Regions from separate parts of the Homo sapiens genome. Here region 1 is linked to region 2. The links are contacts of gene promoters, found by promoter capture Hi-C in blood cells and fetal thymus (Javierre and others, 2016). All regions are on one chromosome and are shown on one strand. Each heading gives the region's core, a stretch centred on a gene start or on the middle of the fragment in contact. The rest is flanking DNA. Distances are from core to core; before and after follow the strand shown. Region 1 holds the start of FGF18 (fibroblast growth factor 18). Region 2 holds the start of CPEB4 (cytoplasmic polyadenylation element binding protein 4).

Region 1 (4,258 bases), core at 815-3,314, 2.5 Mb before region 2:
TTTTCATTGTGTGCCAGACACTCATTGAGTACTCACAACTCTGTGAGAGTTGTTACTGTTCTTAGCCATATTTTGTAGAGGAGGAAGCAGAATCTCAAACCGTTGCTTGCTGGAATTTATAAGTAAATGTTGGTGGCAGTATTCAAATGCAGTACTTCTGACTCCTGAGTTTATGCTCTTACTCAGAACTGTTCTCTTGGCTGGACTTTTTGGTCAGTCTGATTTGTTTGGTAGGTGAGATTGGCAAATATACTTTGAGCATTGAAAAATACTGCAAGCATTTTAGATAGGGTATAAATAATTATATACCCATTCCATTCACAAGTAATAAAAAATAGTAACAATATAGAAAATTGGAAGCATGATTCTTAGCCAGGAGATACTTCAAACTAGCAGATGGTAAGCCAAAAACTCCTCGACTGGGTTTGTCAATCTTCCTATAAAGCAAGATCAAAGACGGCGGCAATGACTCGGGTCATCGGTGGGAGCATTTCTGTCCATTTCTATTTATGGTTGGTCATTGCATCCTATCTTGGGATCGATTCATTTTCTCCAGAACTTGGGAAGTTACGAGTAACTCTGCAAGTCCAGCTCTGGCAATCAGAATGTCTAAGTAAATTCAGCTTAAAAGCTTCATGCAGGAATTTTCCCCCTCAGCACCTGGTTTTGAAAAGGTTTTCTGCACTTGTGTCCGATGTTGAAACAGAGGCTATCTGTTTAAAATAGCCTCAGCTTTGAAAGGGAACTTAAAATAGCTTGCAAGGAGGCCTGATATTTGGAACAATTACTAATGTTTTATAGTCATGGCTTCAGCAAATAGCACTGTTCGACAGTCCTACCTCAGTTTATGCTCCAGTGGACCATCAACCATTGCCAACGCAAGGAGGCTTTAACCAAATAGTCCAGATTCCTGAGTTTTGCTTGAGCCTGTCCTCCAGCGTCTTTCTCACTGTGACCTATTTTCCTTAGCATCAGGCTCAAGCAGAGCTTGGCTGACACCAGCTCTAGACAGTGAGGCAGGTACGTGACAAGAACACCTACGTTTTGGGGTTGGTGGGAAGGACAGGAGTTATGCCTCTGGAAGGGGCAGAGGCGGTAAGAACCAGTGTCCTGAATGGGGCCCTGGTTAAAGGAACGAAGCTGCCTAGTATGCAAACGGAGGCAAGTCTTAGTCCGGTTTTGGGAGGAGGCCGGAAGAGGGCCTCAGCGTGGTCGCTGACCAGAGTCCTGCTGGCTGCTCCCCGGCGTGCAGCCGTCCGTGCTGGGGTTGCAGTGACGTCTCGGGGCCGCTTGGTGGTAGCCGTGTGTTTCCAAAGCTGGCTCGCCTACGGGAGAGTCCAGCTGGGATCCCGTGAACCGACCCCAGAGCCCCGGAGGGGGCGAGGGGTGGGAAGGAGAGATGCCCGGGAGCCCCCTTCGCAGCGGCAGGGACGTAAGAAGAGGACGGGGGCTCACTTAAGTGGGTAGCCAGTCAAGAGGGTGGCTGGGAAACTCCACGATCGCAGGGCGGGTAAAAGCGACCCCCATTCAGTGGAGCCGCCCCGGGGCTGGGTTTGACCCGCCCCTCTCGGCTCTCCACTAGAGCGCTGGTGAGTGAGTGCGAGTAGCGAATGTGGGCAGGTGAGGACGTTCCGTACCTAACTGCGTTCTTGGGGAGCATCGCCTGCCCAATTTGGGCAACGTTTGCGCGGAGGAGCGGTCACTGCGCTCGGGCGCAGAGCTCCGACGGCTTCCAGCGCTCACCAGCTTCAGTCTCGCGGGTCCTGCCCCTTTGGAGCTGCCGGTCCCGTCTCCGAGAGTCTGAGCGCCTCCCCTCCAACCCCGAGCCGCCAGGAGAAGGAGGAGGAGGCAGCGAGAGGCCGCGGCAGGCAGGCGAGCAGGCAGGGCCGCCTTTGATGTGGGCTGGGCGCACCCAGGCGAGCTGAGCGCCCGTCCGGCCGCGCCCCGAGGGGGGAGCCCCCAGGCCCCGCATCCTCATTGTGCCGGCTCGGGCCCGGGCCCGCCCCCGGCCCCCCGCCCCCTCGCCGCCCGCGCGTAGAAAACGCCCCGGCCGCCGCCAGTGGTGGGAGGCGGCGATGCGCACGGCCGGAGAGACGCGGAGGAGGAGACATGAGCCGGCGGGCGCCCAGACGGAGCGGCCGTGACGCTTTCGCGCTGCAGCCGCGCGCCCCGACCCCGGAGCGCTGACCCCTGGCCCCACGCAGCTCCGCGCCCGGGCCGGAGAGCGCAACTCGGCTTCCAGACCCGCCGCGCATGCTGTCCCCGGACTGAGCCGGGCAGCCAGCCTCCCACGGACGCCCGGACGGCCGGCCGGCCAGCAGTGAGCGAGCTTCCCCGCACCGGCCAGGCGCCTCCTGCACAGCGGCTGCCGCCCCGCAGCCCCTGCGCCAGCCCGGAGGGCGCAGCGCTCGGGAGGAGCCGCGCGGGGCGCTGATGCCGCAGGGCGCGCCGCGGAGCGCCCCGGAGCAGCAGAGTCTGCAGCAGCAGCAGCCGGCGAGGAGGGAGCAGCAGCAGCGGCGGCGGCGGCGGCGGCGGCGGCGGAGGCGCCCGGTCCCGGCCGCGCGGAGCGGACATGTGCAGGCTGGGCTAGGAGCCGCCGCCTCCCTCCCGCCCAGCGATGTATTCAGCGCCCTCCGCCTGCACTTGCCTGTAAGCGCCCGCGCGCGGGGCTGCCCACCTTGCCTGGCTGTCTGTCCGTATGCCTGTGCCCTGTACCTCTGTCTGCCCGCCCGTCGGTTCACCTGACTCTTCGACTGCGTGTCTGTCTGTCCGTGCGCCCCCTTCCTCAGGTCCCACTGACCGCTTCTCCATCTGTTTCCCGCAGGTGTTTACACTTCCTGCTGCTGTGCTTCCAGGTACAGGTACGTGGGCTCCTGACTTTGACCTCCTCCCGCCCCTGCCTCGCGGTACACGCCGACCCCCCTTCCCCGGCCGCGCCCCCTCCCTGTGCCCCACCCCTCCTGGGCGCTGAGCCCAGTGCACCTGTTCCCAGGGCGCGGAAGGGCGGCTCCGCGTGCGCCCTGCGCCGGCGGGGAACCGGCCAAGGGCAAGGGGCTCTGCCGCGGGGCCCGAGGAGGCGCTGGCTGTCGCGGCCACTGTCGGCCTCGGCTGGGAGGAGATCCCGCAGAGCCGGCGGGCTCAGCCGCAACAATATACCCAGCTCTAAGACCCCTGCCCGCAGCCAGCGAGGGGTAGGACCTAGGGATTTTCTCTGCCAACCTTCCCTTAACATCGCCGCTTCCAAACAAAAAGACTTTCAGCCGAGTGGATTTCGAGTCCAGGGAGAAAGCTTCAGTTGTAAATTACTCTGTGGTTTTGAAGGCGCTTGCAGCACTGAGACACACACACAGACACACACACATGCCCGGGACGAGGGGAAGCTCGAGGGCGCCTAGGCCGAGTGGCCGCTGCCCGCGAGGCCGCTCCCGGATGGGCCGCGCTCCGCACTCCCTCGCCTAAGGTGGTGCAGCCCTCGTTGGTTCCCCGCCTGCTCCCGGTTCGCTCGCTCTCCGTGAATCAGAAGAGGGCTTGGCGCTCGGCCTGGAAAGCACTTGCTAAAATCTGATCTGTTACTTCAGCAGCTTTCAGACTCGGGAAGGTCTTGGCACGCAGACAGTTGGAACGCTCTGGCTTCCAAAGCCGTAGAAATGAAGGAAAAAGGGTTGGGGGGAGGGAGAGAGAAGAGCGAAAAAGGGAGCCGACTTCAGCCCCGATTAGAACCAGACCAGGGCTGCCTCTGCATGGTGGGGGTCGGGGGGCGGCGGGCAAAGGGAATAGGAAGCGTCAGCTCCCCAAGCCCCCACCCACCTAGTGCTGCAAGGGGCCAGGCCAGGAGGAACTGGACACAGGTCAAAAGAGGGTTGTCTGACCCTTCCCCCTCGGTGGAAGGCAGGTGGCTTTCCGGGATTAGAGAAGATTCTTAGACCTTAGCCTTCTGGATTGTGGAGATCCCCAGAGCTAGCCTTGAGCACAGGAAATTGGTGGTTCTCCCGGTTTTCTGGCTCAAGGAGTGTTGTGTGCCTTGAGCACTGCGCGACTCAACAGCCACTCGCAGTGTTTGGCGGTGGTGGGCCTGCTATCTTCCTTCCACGCCCAGGAGAGGGTTGTTACCCTCCTGATAGGCACTGAGCTGGGGGCATCCATTGGGGCTTGGGGATGGAAGGGTGGACGGACTGATGGGTTCTTTCCTCCTGTTGGCCAGGCTGGGGTCCCCAGTGACTCCTTGAATCAATATAACTGGAGTCAGTAACTTAAGACT
Region 2 (4,220 bases), core at 664-3,163:
TAATTAAAAGAGAGCAATCTACAAGACATTAGAGAGAGGGCCAGTCAAGGAAACCATTCTGGCGGAAAAGACACCTGACGGAACCAGCTAAGTTTCCAGGCATGTCCAGTTGTAGGGAATAAACAGCAGGTAAGACCCAATCTCTATGCTCAAAGAATCCATAGTAGAGTTACAGAGACAAGACTCATGCTCATGGCACAATGAAAGAGAATAAAATCACCGATTGAAGGCCCTCAGGTGTTCTACACGGAAGTGATGGAGGATTGACAGACTGAGGCAGAAGTTGAGACCATTAGAGGAAGGCTATGGAAATGAAATGGAAGCCACCTTTGTTCATACTATTTTTCATTAATCTTGGTATCTTTTTTTTCCCTCTAGTTGTGCCAGTTACTTCTGGCTCTACCCTGATTTCTTTGTTCATTTTTCTTCCTGCTAAAGGAAAATACTCACTTATTTAACATATTTAAAGCTGTGCTGAGAGCAAAGCATTATCCTAAGCCCTGATGGTGGTCATAGCGTTGGGAATGTACAAAGATAAACAGGACATTAAAGCCCTTGAGTACCAAACATAATGAAAAGTCTGATATGTGAGCTCCAAACCAAATGGCAAAAGGAAGGAAATAATTAATTCAGACTTGGAAACAGGAGTGAGGGGTGGGGGGTGGGTGACGGGTGGAAGGGGTGGCAGTGGGTTGGGGGGCTGTCACTCAGGGAAGACTTCATTGTTGCTGGTTTGTTCATTCACGTTTTCAGGATTCATTCACTGATGTCTCCTATCTACAATGTCTGCTCCTGAAAGAGCCCACGGTCCAGCACAGGTCTGGAAGACATAAACCATCACAATATAGTGTGAGAAACAAGCACGAGAGGTACACAGGGCCGTGGACGCTTATAAGAGAGAATTCAGAAGATGCTGTTGGTGGCTTTTGAACTGATTCCTAGAAATAAATAGGAATTTACCAAAGGAGAAGAGTGGAAAGGACATGTAAAAAGGCATTGAGAGTGTGTTTGGAGGGGGAAGAGGCACTAAGATATACCACCCATTAGGTAGAAAGGCTTGAATACCAGACTAACAAGTTTGGCCTTTATCTTCGAAATAATGGGCAACCATAGAAGAAATCGGAGCATGTGAGGGTCAAGATAAAATTTTAGTTTTGGAATTTTCCCTCTGGTATTGCGTGTAAGGTGTACTAGATCGGGATGATACGGGGGCATAGCCACAGACGCCTCAGCTGCATCTCTGCACCTGGGAGACTGCACCAGATGCGAGCCTAGCAGAATGGGAGAGTGGGAGGTGCGGGTGAGCGAATGGAAGGTTAAGGGAGAGTCCCTCGTGAGGTCTACATTCTGGGCAAGGGCAAACGCAGTTCTAGGCACCGCACAGCTGCTGGCAAGACCCGCCTCCCCTTCCAGATCCCTCTGGGGCGGAGCTCGGGCCAGAGCACGTGATGCTTGGAGCACCACCTTTACTGTGGGCACCCTTCTCATTCATCCGCGGTTTCACGGGCCGCCACTTCGATCTCCAACACCTTGACCGTATGCCTTCGTGAGCGAGGAATCCGTTCTCCTTGACACGTCCCTATTGCTCCTCCTGCAAAGCCCAGTTAGGGAAGAGAAATATCAAAGGAGTCCCTTGCCCACACAAAAGATGGCGACCTGCTGCGCTCACTCTGGGTGGGGGAAGCGGGTTCCAGGCGCCGGGCCTCACTAGGCGAGGCGCAGACGGAAGAGGCGTCTCTGGAGGTAACTTTTCGACCTTCCTGGGAGTAGCTCTGAAGCGAGGGGGCGTGGCCTCGCCTGAGTTCTAACAGATGATTGGTCTTCCGGCAGGTAGGTGGGGAATGAGTGCTACCCCCACCCCTCCCTCTTCGAACCGGAAGTGTCTCTGGGTCTTTCCAGCTGGTTGTCATTTCACTCGGCTCGGTCCTGAGGAGAAGGACTCAGCCGCGGCTGCGGGACCCGGGCACCGGGAGGCGGTGGCGGCGGCGGCGGCGGCAGCAGCGGCGACAGCAGAGGAGGAAGAGGAGGAAGAAGGAAAGAAAAAGAAGAACCAGGAGGAGTCCTCAACAACGACAGCGGGGACTGCGGGACCAGGGTAAAGCGGCGACGGCGGCGACGGCCCAGCAACCGTGAGGAGAAACAAAAGCCTTCTAAATTATAGTTTAAAAAAAAATTCTGGGGGAAAAGAGAGAGAAAGCCGAGGGGGGAGGCCCTTCTCCTTTAAAATAACTACGGTAGTGGGTTTTTCCTTTTTTTCCTCTTTTTTCCCTCTCTGCGGAGAATCGAACTGAGGGAACTGAACAAACCGCCCCTGGGTCCCATGAGGGAAAAAAACCCCGGAGCCGCAGAGAGGGGAAGAGGCAGAAACCGCAGGACCTTCCAGGTCGCCCCCTCGGTCCCCGCACCCCCAGGCCGCCCGCTCACCCTCGTCGAGTCTCGCTAATCCCTCCTGATCGCGACCCCCGCAAGAGGGAGAAACGGGTGTTTCCAACCCCTTTCATGGGGGAGAGGAAGCCGCGGGGAGCCCAGGAACAGCGACCGCAGCAAGATCTGCACCCGGAGCCTCAGGAACAGCCCCAGAGGCCAAAACTGCACCCTGCGAAAGAGCAGAAAACAGGACCAGGAACAGCAGAAACCTCCCTGCAATCATCTTTCCATTAGTCAATGCTGATTTCCTCTCCCGAAACCAGGAATTCACTTCCCACCCCAGATAACCTAATATAATCTATATATATAAATATATAATATATAATGTTCTTAAATTATTCCTGATTTTTTTTTAACCAAGCTGCCAAGAAAAGAACGTATTCCCCTCTTAGTCCTATTCTAATTTTTATGTGAGTGAATCTAAACTGCTGAGGAAAACCATATGTGATTGTTAAATTATATATATCTATATTTTTACTCCGCGCAAGGCTTATTCTTCTACATCCATAGATGCTTGAGAAGCTCTGTTTTTGTCATTCATGTACATTTTCCTTTGGAAAAAGAAAGCGCCTATTTTACTAACCAAAGACTTGATTTTTACCCTCTTCATTTTTATTCCCTCCTAAAAATAAGCCCAATTGGATCCAAGTCAATGTTTTAAGAGATTTTTTTAAGAGTTGTTTTTTCTTTCAGAGACCAGAATTCCAAATCAGAACAATTTAAGGTGATAAGCTGCGATCTTTGAGCTAGCTATAAATAAGACATTTCAAGCAAGCAAGCAAACAACTTAAATTTGGGGTAGAGGAAAAAAAAGGCGTGAGACATCAGGTTGTCATTTTTTATTGTGAGATTCTGCTCCTAAAGATAATAAATGGGGGATTACGGGTTTGGAGTGCTAGTGCAAAGCAATACTGGGAATAAATCTGCTTTTCCAGTCAGATTCCATCCACATCTGCAGCCTCCACACCATCACCAAAATGCCACCCCCAGCCCTGCTGCTTTTATAAATAATAACACAGCTGCCAATGGCAGCAGTGCTGGGTCAGCTTGGCTTTTTCCTGCTCCAGCTACCCATAACATTCAGGATGAGATCTTGGGGTCAGAAAAAGCAAAAAGTCAGCAACAGGAACAGCAAGACCCCTTAGAAAAGCAGCAGCTTTCCCCAAGTCCAGGTCAGGAAGCTGGAATACTGCCTGAAACAGAGAAGGCAAAATCAGAAGAAAATCAAGGGGACAATTCTTCGGAAAATGGCAATGGGAAGGAGAAAATAAGGATCGAATCTCCAGTGTTGACAGGGTTTGATTATCAAGAAGCCACTGGGCTAGGTACTTCAACCCAACCCTTGACATCTAGCGCATCGTCTCTTACTGGTTTCAGTAACTGGTCAGCAGCGATAGCGCCTTCCTCCTCTACAATAATCAATGAAGATGCAAGTTTCTTTCACCAGGGAGGGGTCCCTGCTGCTTCGGCTAATAACGGTGCTCTGTTGTTTCAAAATTTCCCCCATCATGTCAGCCCTGGCTTTGGAGGCAGCTTCTCTCCTCAGATCGGGCCTCTCTCACAGCACCACCCACATCACCCTCATTTCCAGCATCATCACAGCCAGCATCAGCAGCAAAGGAGGTCTCCTGCCAGTCCCCATCCCCCACCCTTCACACATAGAAATGCTGCTTTTAACCAGCTGCCTCATTTGGCGAATAATCTTAACAAACCCCCCTCTCCGTGGAGCAGCTACCAGAGTCCGTCACCAACACCCTCCTCTTCCTGGAGCCCGGGCGGTGGTGGATATGGTG

The links. Contacts are between HindIII fragments. The CHiCAGO score rates a contact against its expected background, and 5 or more counts as called.
Region 1: a contact is called between the fragment with the promoter of FGF18 here and the fragment with the promoter of CPEB4 in region 2, in 1 of 17 cell types (naive CD8 T cells). The highest score is 5.7, in naive CD8 T cells.

The regions. Positions count from the first base shown.
Region 1 is chr5:171,417,583-171,421,840 of GRCh38, forward strand. It overlaps FGF18 (fibroblast growth factor 18), which reads left to right and starts at 2,065. Exons shown (of 5, transcript NM_003862.3): 1 at 2,065-2,649; 2 at 2,825-2,861. The coding sequence starts at 2,618. RefSeq lists silencers at 1,902-2,011, 2,132-2,241, 2,382-2,431, 2,492-2,571. The HindIII fragment of the contact is 2,658 bases long and covers 630-3,287 here.
Region 2 is chr5:173,886,436-173,890,655 of GRCh38, forward strand. It overlaps CPEB4 (cytoplasmic polyadenylation element binding protein 4), which reads left to right and starts at 1,914. Exons shown (of 10, transcript NM_030627.4): 1 at 1,914-4,220. The coding sequence starts at 3,299. RefSeq lists enhancers at 1,421-1,660, 3,685-4,186, 4,187-4,220 and a silencer at 4,191-4,220. The HindIII fragment of the contact is 9,803 bases long and covers 1-4,220 here.